Linked DNA regions of Homo sapiens: all the other regions are linked to region 3. The links are contacts of gene promoters, found by promoter capture Hi-C in human tissues and cell types (Jung and others, 2019). All regions are on one chromosome and are shown on one strand. Each heading gives the region's core, a stretch centred on a gene start or on the middle of the fragment in contact. The rest is flanking DNA. Distances are from core to core; before and after follow the strand shown. Region 1 has its middle 9.1 kb from the start of MIR1471. Region 2 overlaps COPS7B (COP9 signalosome subunit 7B). Region 3 holds the start of ALPI (alkaline phosphatase, intestinal).

Region 1 (3,698 bases), core at 18-2,517, 570 kb after region 3:
TCTCCCCAAACCTCCATACCAGCAGGGTGGGTGAGCCCTGCAACTCCCAGCCTCAGCTCACATTGTGCCAGGAGTGGTGCAACCCTTTCACAAGACCGTGGCCAGAGCCCTCCCACAAATCTCCTGACTTAAGATCTTGACCTGGAAGAGACAAATGGGGTCTTCATTCTTCCCTTCCAGGAGACTAGTTTGCTTGTGCCAGAACTCAGCTCACCAGGGAGCCAGCACCTGCTAAGCCGGTTTGACACCAACTCCCACCTGGAAAATGGGAGCTGATTCCCCTTCCCTTGTAAAATGAAGAGGCCATCCAGCGATTATGACCAGAAACCAGATCTATGCCAAGATGTCCTTCTGTCCTTCTGTTTGTTTAAAAACGCAGCTGGGAGCTTTATCTTCTCTATTAAAAGCAATTGTTGCAGATTACACTGAGTTGAGAGGAGTAGATGATGAGCCCCTGGGAAGAAAACAATTTCCATTTGGTTACAAAAACATACAAGCAGACTGCTGAGAAGCTGATACCCTCGTTTTGCTTGTAGAACATATTTTGTATTAGTTCTTTCCTTTTTCAGAGTGTATTAATTTGCATTTGCTCCTTTTTAGAATTTGGCTAATGACTTATGAATTTTTTAAAGACCAATTCTAAGGGAGTTTTCCCTTAAAAAAAAAAAACACAGCATTGTGCTATTTCAAGACCATCTCAGATGAATGAATAAATAAATAAACATAGCTTTAAATCCTCCAAACAACCACCCCAAAAAGAAGCTGTGGGCCCAGCATAACCAGTCTTCCCACACTAGCCACCTGTGCCCTCTTACACCCGCCCTCATCCCCAAGTGCTCTGGCCTGAGGGCAAACAAAACCGACAGCTTGCCTTTTTCTCCATCAGGGTGGAATTCTGAAAAGAAATTTGACTGAAGACAAGATAGAGGGAAACAAGGACCCTCTAAGAAGCATGAGACCAGATGGATTTACAAAGTATGGTGTGAGACGCCTATGGGGCACACTCACTGCTCACCCCGGCTTAGCACCTCTTTCTCCCTGGAGGCCGCATCTGCTGGGGATGCATTCCTGATTTTGAGCGTTCTCTACCCCAGCCAAGTATTTCCAGAGTACTGGTTCCAGCAAAAACTCCCATCAGAAGTCCATGGCCAGTGGGTGGCCATGGGGTCAGCAGAGCCTCCTGCCTCAAACCCACCCACCTCCCAGTACATGATGAGAAGGAAGAGCCAGGCTGCCTGGAAGGACCTGTTCCCACTTCTCCATGCCGTCCCACTCTGGCCCGCTCTGCAGAAGAGCCATTTCCTCCCATGTGCTACTGATTAAGTTTATCAATTCTCTCTTCTTCCTACATTTTGTTTAGATTTATTACTTCCTTTTTCTCCATTTTCTTGGTTCATAGCTTAAAGGGAACAAAGTTCATTAGGTATCAGCTTGATTTATTGTTTCTCGTTTCTCCCTCTCTAATATAAGCACTGGGAGCCATAAATCTCCTCTAAGTACTGCATTGGCAGCATCCCAGGAGTCGAGATGTGTCACTTTCATGGTTTTGTTCCTTAAATATTCTGCGGAGTCCTGAATGTCTTCCCTAATGAAAGGTTTATTTAAGAAAAGATCCGCTTTGCTGAATGCAATAAGAAACAGCTGAAAAAGACATACAACTAGAGGAAGAAAAAGGAAAGAGGTAAAATTATCATTTGTCGATAATGCAGTCTTATAGCCCCGATAACCAAATGAAAAATTCCTAGAATTTTATTAAGAGTGAAATTAGATAAAGTGAATGGATAAAAAAGAAACATTCACAAATCACTTCCTTTCCTCTATACCAACAATTAGAAAATAAAAGAGGAGGGGAAAGACCACCCCCCCCACACACACACAATAGCAACTGTAAAAATCAAACACCCTAGAAATAAGCTTAACAATAAATATGCAGAAACTCTGAAAACTACAGAATTTTACTGAGGGTTTTAAAGGAAGACAAGAGAAGTGTGCTCATGGTGAGAAGCCTCCATGTTGTAACAATGTCTTTTCTTTTTAAATGGATGTATACATTTAATGTGATGTCCACCAAAATTTTAATGGAACTTTTTGGGAAACGAGCCCAAATAATTCTGAAGCTCATCTGGAGAAATAAAGAGACGATGAGACAATTTTCCCCACCTTTCCCCCTGGGGAGGCGGCCAGAGCTGGAAGAGGAGGACTGGGGTTTGGGGAGACAGACGGGGGCAGAGGACTGACTGGCCACCACCCCAGCCCTGTGGTCCCTGTTTTCGAAGTGGTCCTGGAGACTTTGGCGGCCTCCCACTGGGGAGGATGTGAGTCTATTTCAGTCATTCACCAAATACTCACTGAGCCTCAGGCACGATTGTAGGAGCTAGGGCTGGGGCAGTGAAGAGGACAAAGTCCCTGCCCAGGGGGATCTTAGGTTCTGGTTGGGGAGGCCGATAAAAGATTAGCAAATATGAAATTTCACATCAAGGATGCTGTGAGGAAAACTAAAGCAGAGTACGGGAACAGAGGCTGTGCTAATCTAGCAGAGTGGGAAGGCAGGGGAACCACTCTTAGGAGATGGCAGAAGCCCCTTTGTGATGGGATGGGGGTGGTGGGATCATGCAGGTGAGGGCACCTTTAGAACTGGATCCATGGGAAGAAGTGGGAGGACCAGGTGGGAGCAGCTGCACCCTAGACACATCACTGTCTCCTTCAGAATATCCCATAAGGTGTGGCTCCACGTGGCTCCATGCAGTCCCACCTGATTCGTGAAACCCCTGCCCTGAGCCAAGTCAGGTAATTCCTCTCTCTAAGAATTTGAAATTCAGGCCGGGCATGGTGGCTCATACCTGTAATGCCAGCACTTTAAGAGGCTGAGGCAGGCGGATCACCTGAGGTCAGGAGTTCAAGACCAGCCTGGCCAACATGGTGAAACCCCGTCTCCACTAAAAATACAAAAATTAGCCAGGTGTGGCGGCACATGCCTGTAGTCCCAGCTACTCGGGAGGCCGAGGCAGGAGAATCACTTGAACCCAGGAAGTTGAGGTTGCAGTGAGCTGAGATTGCACCACTGCACTCCAGCCTGGGCGACAAAGCGAGACTCTGTCTCGAAAAAAAAAAAAAAAAGAATTTGAAATTCGGACACAGGCCTGAGCAGAGTCCTTGAGTAAATGGGGCACTGAGTGGCAGGGTAGGGGGCAGTTAGGCTCTGAGGGGGAATGGGTAGGCAGGACACCCTGGCCAGTTGAAGAATGGGGCAACTGAAGACAGGAGCCAGTGTGCAGATAGGAGCTGCAGCATGGGAGGGGCCGAGGAGAGAGGGACAAAGAGACAGAGCGAGACACCAAGAGAGACAGAGGAAGATAGAGACATAGACAGAGACAGACGAGGACAGAGAGACAGAGGGAAATAGAGACATAGAGACAGACAGAGAGATACAGGGAGACAGACAGAGTTGGAGACACACACACATATACACACACACACAAACCCACCCAGAGAGAGAGAAACTACCCATGACTTTCTTAGGGCAAGTCAGTGGTGGGTTTCACAATAAATTCCACGAGAATCCATCTTTTATCAATTGGTCACTACATGACCAACTCACCAAGCTTAGTCAGTACACTGATTTTCCAGTCACCATTTTAGGGAATATGCTTTTTACATATTTAATATTATTCTTTACTATCTTACTGGCATTTTAAGAA
Region 2 (3,469 bases), core at 221-2,720, 650 kb after region 3:
GGGAGATATAGAATTGGAGTGCTCAGCCTGTATGTGCTCACCAAAACTTGCTCTCACTATGTCTTCACTTCAGACAGGAAGCTAAAATCCTCTGCAAGAAAACCTGAAATTCTCTTCAGAAATCCAGATGAGCAGAAACGAGCCTGGGCTACTCACAGCAGATTTGTGGAAATGAGTCAAGCAAAAATGTGGGACTAATGCTCTCCTGGTTGAAACAAATGGAAGGGGAACATTTGGCAAAGAGGCACATCACCAACAGTGAAATAAATCGTGATTAAAATGTCCTCAGAAAGAGGGACCCAAGAATTCTACACTCTGCTGTTATTCATTTATAAAACCACAAATATTTTCATAAAAACTTTGGGAATACAGCTCCATGAACCTTCTTGAATAAACCAGTAGAGGATGAACTTCAGCCAACTAAGTGAGAAATGAAGAAAATGTAATAGAAGTACTGGCAAAATGCTATGACACTACCGTGTGCAGTATAGCTTTCTTTCACTTAACAAAATACAGACTCGTAAATACTTAAGCAGCTCTTGAACATTTTACCACGTCAGAACAGATATCCTCTGTGACACTTGAACCCTATTCTATTAGGAAGGTTCTCCAGTTTTCCAGTTTTTTGAATTGGTTCCTAGTTTGGGTTTCAGTGCTACTCTGAACAGCCCTTTATGTTTACCTTTGCATACTTCTGTGAACATCTATGGAAGATACTCCTAGAAGTGAGCTTTCCAGATCAAAGTCGATTTACATTTTACATTTGAATCAGTACTGCTATATTGCCTGCTGAAAAGTGACTATTCCAAACCTTTGCTCCTCAGTTCGTTGAGAGGAAGAAACAGCAGGAAGAGGATGGTGGTGGTAGGGAAGAACAGTGCAGTCAAATAAGTAATAGCTTTTTTAGTCTTTTTTTTTTTTTTTTTTGGAGACAGAGTCTTACTCTGTTGTACAGGATGGAGTATAGTGGCACAATCACAGCTCACTGCAGCCTCAACTGCCCAGGCTTAAGTGATCCTCCCACCTCAGCCTCCTGAGCAGCTTGGACCACAGGCGCTTGCCACCATGCCTGGCTAATTTTTAAAAACTTATTTGTAGAGACAAGGTTTCACCACGTTGTCCAGGCTGTTTTCAAACTCCCAGGGTCAACTGACCCTCCTACCTTGGCCTCCCAAAGTGCTGGGATTACAGGCATGAGCCACCACACCCAGCCAGTTTTCTACATAGTGAAAAGGAGTTGTCAGGGTCAAAAGTTCTCAACAGTCAGAATATTATGAGCTTGAGGGTAAGAGACAGTCCAAATGCAAAGACAAAACAATGCTATGAGGGTGAGACAAAAATTGGGTTCCTGGAGGAGAGCCATCATCTGCAGAATCCACCTTAACTAGATCATAAATTGTTTTTTGTTGTCACTATTTTGAGACAGGGGGAAAAGCCATGCCCTAAACTTCTGTAACCTCAATCAACGCTGTAGCCTTTCTGAAGAGAGAATGACAGAGGACTGTGGGCTGGAACAGTCATTACAGAGGGCAGGCTGGGCATGGTGGCTCACACCTATACTTCTAGCACTTTGGGAGGCTGAGCAAAGAGAATTGCTCAAGAGCAGGTGTTCAAGACCAGCCTGGGCAACATAGTGGGACCCTGTCTTTCTTAAAAAAAAAAAAAAAAATTTTAGCCAGGTATGGTGGCATGCACCTGTAGTCCCAGCTACTCAAGTGGCTGAGGCAGGAGGATCGCTTAAGCCCAAGAGGTAGAGGCTACAGTGAGCCATGTCTGCACCACTGCACTCCAGCCTAGATGACATTCAAGTAAGACCTTATCTCAACAAAAAGACATAAAAGAAAAAAACATGTGCCTGGTGTGGTGGCACATGCCTATAGTCCTAGCTATTCAGGAGGCTGAGGCAGGAGGATCACTTAAGTCCAGGAGTTTGAGGCTGCAGTGAACTATGATTACACCACTGATTCCAGCCTGGGTGACACAGCAAGACCCAGTGCCTGGAAATATATAAATATATATATATATATATATATAAAATTTAAAAAAAAATATATATATATATATATAATAAACAGGGAGGGGAATTCAACTCTGGGTTTATCCAGTGTCCTGCCAGACAACAAAACACAATCTGGGAACCCCAGAACCCTGAGGCATCTCGCCCTCCCAGCGGCTCACTGCCACTTTGGTGTACCTCATTCAGTGAGTCACCTGGCAAGGTGGTGAGTGAATGATCTGGAGCAAGCCAATGGCTTATCACTCTTTCTCTGATAAAAGAAATATTATTTGTTTTAAGACTTTTTTTAAAAAATAGAAATGGGATCTTGCTATGTTGCCCAGGCTGGTCTCAAACTTCTGGCATGAACCAATTTGCCTGCCTCAGCCTCCTAAGTAGCTGGGACTACAGACACATACTATCATGCCCAGCTAAGGCATATTTTGATGACATTGGAGGAAAAATTAAGAAATTTGACTTCTCAGGGAACACTGCTTTATAAAATAACATTCTAAGGCTTCTCCAATTTGATATATTTTCTAAATATCCAGAAGAAAATGAACTAAAATCATAATAAGAGGTAACGACATGACTTTAGTTTATTTATTTGCATGTCAGTTACCTCTAACTTCCAAAGAAGATCCTGCAATTTAACATTACCTGAGGGAATGTGTTTTAAAGTCTCCCCAAAAGCTGACAAAATTTTAATCAAATAAGACATTAGAAAACAAACAAGTTTTTGTTTCAAGGACTGTATTTCCAAAATGGGGTATCTTTCCAAGCAAATAATTACCTTTCCCATTTGGCAAAATAGCTTTATTAAAAATTAAAAAAACAAAACCAAAAAAAATTCCTAATTTCATCTTGTCTGATAAGCACTATTTAGCCTTATTTCCTCAAGTTATTTGTGTAATAATTTTTACTAAACAATCAGCTTAGGCCAGGCACAGTGGCTCACGCCTGTAATCCCAGCACTTTGGGAGGCTGAGGCAGGCAGATCACGAGGTCAGGAGATCGAGACCATCCTGGCTAACGCGGTGAAACCCCATCTCTACTAAAAATATAAAAAGTTAGCCGGGTGACGTGGCGGGCACCTGTAGTCCCAGCTACTCGGGACGCTGAGGCAGGAGAATGGCGTGAACCCGGGAGGCAGAGCTTGCAGTGAGCCAAGATCGCGCCACTGCACTCCTGCCTGGGCTACAGAGCCAGACTCTGTCTCAAAAAAAAAAAAAAAAATCAGCTTATACTACAAATAGTTTTCTACATTATTTAACATGTCTTAGATTTACTGACAGTCTCATAACCCCTGCATGAGTAAGGAAAAGGCATTAATCAATCCCCAAATAATGGTTATATTTTCAATCCGCTTCACCTATGTTTTTGTAGCATAAAGTCATTATCAGCCTATCAGAAAGTGACAACCGGCATTTATTTCTCTCTTTAGAGTGGCCCAAGGTGATTTGGGCCGGCTTT
Region 3 (3,494 bases), core at 190-2,689:
GTACTTGCGGCCTCCGCCAAGGATCACCTGAGGACAATGGATGGGGCAGGTGGTTTGGGGGCCTGGCTGGCCCCGTGCCCCCTCCTCATGCATAGCCCCTGGCTCCCCTCCCCAGGGCTGTGGGAATGGCCCAGCCTGTATTGCACATTCTACATCCCCAACTCCACCTCCAGAACCTGCTGACCCAGATCAGGCTTTTGGTTGCCTGGATCTGAGCCTGTGCCACCTTCCCCTCTGCCCAGCCCCAGCCCTTGGCCCGGGGGTCGCACGTCAATGTCCATGTTGGAGATGAGCTGAGTGGCGATGTCCTGGCACCCCTCCTGGCGGGCTGAGGCAGGCATGTCAGCATCTGAGTACCAGTTGCGGTTCACTGTGTGTGCGTAGGTGCCGGCTGGCGAGGCGTGCTGCACCCGTGTGGTGGTCACCACTCCTACTGACTTTCCTGAGGGTGACAGAGGTCAGGATCGGTGACCGAGATCTTGGGCCTGGTCCTGACCCCACAGCGGGCCCCAGCTCACCTGCTTGCTTGGCCCGGTTCATCACGGAGATGACCTCATTGCCGCGTGTCGTGTTGCACTGGTTAAAGCGGGCGGCTGCACTCAAGCCGATGGTCTGGAAGTTGGCCTTGACCCCGCACAGGTAGGCCGTGGCTGTGGCTGCGCTGTCTGGCACCTGTCTGTCCACATTGTATGTCTGCGAACGGAGACACCCTGAGCTCTACTTCGGGGCGGACACCCAGACCCCAACCAAGGACCTGGTTCTGGTCCTCTGGGATCCTAACTGCTCCCAGCTCCTAACTTAGGCCCCAGCTGTCCTGGCTCCCTCCCTCCTGCCACACTCCATATCCTTGATCCCTCTCCTCTGCTTGGAGGACTCTGAGGTGGCCCAGCCCTTACCTTGGACAGAGCCAGGTATGGGAAGCGGTCCATGGCCAGGGGCGTCTCAGGCCCCAGTTTGCCATTCTTCTGCCCCTTTAGGATCCTGGTGGCTGTCACCGTGGGCACCCCCAACCCTGAAGGAGCAGAAATGTGTGAGTCCTGGGCCCCAGGGTTGTCCTGGAACCACTGAAGGTCCCGGGTGCCGGGGCTGTGAGGACTACGGGGCTGGACAGGCCTTGCTCACTCACCATCGCCCAGGAAGAGGATGAGGTTCTTGGCGACCTTCTGGATGGGCTGCAGCTTCTTGGCAGCATCCAGGGCCTCAGCTGCCTGGCGGTTCCAGAAGGCCGGGTTCTCCTCCTCAGCTGGCCAGGGGGAGAGTAGAGATCAGGTCAGCCTGGCTGAGGGGGTGCCCTGTGTGTGGAACAGCTTGGGGAGCCTCATTACCTGGGATGACGCCCAGGGAGAGCTGTAGCCTCAGGCCCAGCAGCAGCAGCACCCAGGGCCCCTGCATGTCTTGGGGGCAGCAGGAGGGAGGCGAAGTGGGGACACCAGGAACCGGCTGCAGCGCAGGCTGCCTGGGTTTAAATCAGGGGAGGACTTTGCCCCTGGCTGTAAATGCTCCACGTCCCTCCCCACACCCCTGGTGTCCATCTTGACCCCGCCCAGTCCTGTGACCTGAAGCCAAGCTTGCTGAAGGGAAGGGACTGGGTGTGGCTCACAGTGTCTTGTGGGAGACGCGTTGCCACTCCTTCATTCACCTCATTCAAGGTGTGAAGAGAGGTGAGACTGGAAACACACAGCCTAGGCCAGGGCCCGGGTTAGGGCTCGTAATGTCACGAGCCCCAGAGGAGTGTGAAAGGAGGCACACTGGGTGGCCTGGCTGCCCTAGAACCCACTTGGTGTATATGGGTGCCCACACCTATGTCCTGAGGACGCAGGCTGGGAAGGGGCCAGTGCTCTGGGTCAGCCAGACCTGGGCTGGGTCTTCCAGAGCAGCCTGTGCACTTGAGGTTGACCCCTGTTCCCTTGCACAGGTAGATGGAGCCTGGGGTGAGTCTGTTTTCCATGGGCCCCGGGGAACACCCAGAAGTGTAGCCTCTGATAAGGAGTTCAGAGAGTTTGGTAACCTCAGGCTGAGTTCAAAAGTATTGCTTCAGTCCAGACATCCCACTCTGAGTGTGTAGCCAAAGGAATGCGAACTAGGGACTCGAACAGATAACTGCACACCCATGTTCCCAGCAGCATTATCCACAGCAGCCAAGAGCTGGAAGCTACCCAAGTGTCCAGCAAAAGAGAAATGGAGAAACCAAACAGGGTGCACACATACAATGGAGTATCACGCAGCCTTGAAAACAAAGGCGACCCTGACACCTGCTACAACATGGATGAACCTTAGGACATTATGCTCAGTGAAATATACCAGTGCAAAAGAACAAATACGCACGAACACACTTCTCTGAGGTCCCGAGGGGAGTCAAATACATAGAGACAGAAGTGGAATGGAGGTTGCCTGAGGCTGAGGGAGGAGGCAATGGGTTAGGGTTGGGGTTAGGGTTAGAGTTGGAGTTTAATAGGGACAGAGCTTCAAGGTTGCAGGATGAGAATGTTCTGGAGATCAGCTGCACAACACTGTGCGTGTACTCAACACTGCCGCCCTGTACACTTGAAAATGGTGAAGGAGGTAAACTTGATGTACCGTGTTTTGTAGCACAATTCAAAAACTGGTTCAAGAAGAAAAGGCTCCTCCAGCTCCACCCACCCCAGCCCAACCACAGCAGCCCCTTCTCCACTCGAGCCTGTTTACCTCAAACCCCAGGCTTGGCCCTCAGAACCCAGGGGACCTCACCTGCTGCCCAGCCTCTGCCTGCCCTGCCCCACTCCCCACCACGCCTAGGGCCTCCCTCAGGCCGAGCTTTCCCGGGTCCTCCTGCCTGCGCCCTCCTGGCTTCCCGGTGGTCGTCCTGGGGCTCTCAGGGAAGATGTCGCTCTCATAGGTCCTTCTTGCCCCCTGCTTGTTGCCCCCTTAGTTTCCTCTACCTCCTGCTTCATCTTGCTGAGTTAGGAACATTCTTGGCTGAAAGTCAGAGGAGACTCACTAATGGGTCTCCTCAATTAATTGATTGATTGATTCCAAAGTCAAGGTGAGTCAGGAGGCTTTATAGCCACCCTGAGTTTCATGTTTAAGTTGGAATTTTTGACAGAACTATAGATTCACAAGTAGTTGTAAGAAATAATACAAGCTGGGTGCGGTGGCTCATGCCTGTAATCCCAGCACTTTGGGAGGCCGAGGTGGGTGGATCATGAGGTCAGGAGATCAAGGCCATCCTGGCTAACACAGTGAAACCCCATCTCTACTAAAAATACAAAAAATTAGCTGGGTGTGGTGGCATGCACCTGTAGTCCCAGCTACTTGGGAGGCTGAGGCAGAAGAATCACTTGAACCTGGGAGGTGGAGGTTGCAGTGAGCTGAGATCATGCCACTGCACTCCAGCCTGGGTGGCAGAGTGAGACTCTGTCTCAAAAAAAAAAAAAAGGGAAATAATACAAGAGGCCCTACGTAGTGGCTCACCCCTGCAATCCTAGCACTTTAGGAGGCTGAGGCGGGAGATTCAC

The links. The method cuts DNA at HindIII sites, captures the fragments that hold promoters and counts their contacts. A contact is called where the count stands out against the background at its distance.
Region 1: a contact is called between a fragment that was not itself captured here and the fragment with the promoter of ALPI in region 3, in 3 of the 25 tissues and cell types used here (IMR-90 fibroblasts, dorsolateral prefrontal cortex and liver).
Region 2: a contact is called between a fragment that was not itself captured here and the fragment with the promoter of ALPI in region 3, in 1 of the 25 tissues and cell types used here (spleen).

What each region holds. Positions count from the first base shown.
Region 1 is chr2:231,881,350-231,885,047 of GRCh38, reverse strand. No RefSeq gene overlaps it. Among named protein-coding and RNA genes, the nearest start is that of MIR1471, 9.1 kb to the left of the region's middle. The HindIII fragment of the contact is 8,038 bases long and covers 1-3,698 here.
Region 2 is chr2:231,804,012-231,807,480 of GRCh38, reverse strand. The region is part of intron 6 of COPS7B (COP9 signalosome subunit 7B); the gene reads right to left. Among named protein-coding and RNA genes, the nearest start is that of COPS7B, 19 kb to the right of the region's middle. The HindIII fragment of the contact is 7,523 bases long and covers 1-3,469 here.
Region 3 is chr2:232,454,098-232,457,591 of GRCh38, reverse strand. ALPI (alkaline phosphatase, intestinal) reads right to left here and starts at 1,439. Exons shown (of 11, transcript NM_001631.5): 1 at 1,326-1,439; 2 at 1,127-1,243; 3 at 897-1,012; 4 at 519-693; 5 at 270-442; 6 at 1-27. The coding sequence starts at 1,392. The HindIII fragment of the contact is 7,401 bases long and covers 1-3,494 here.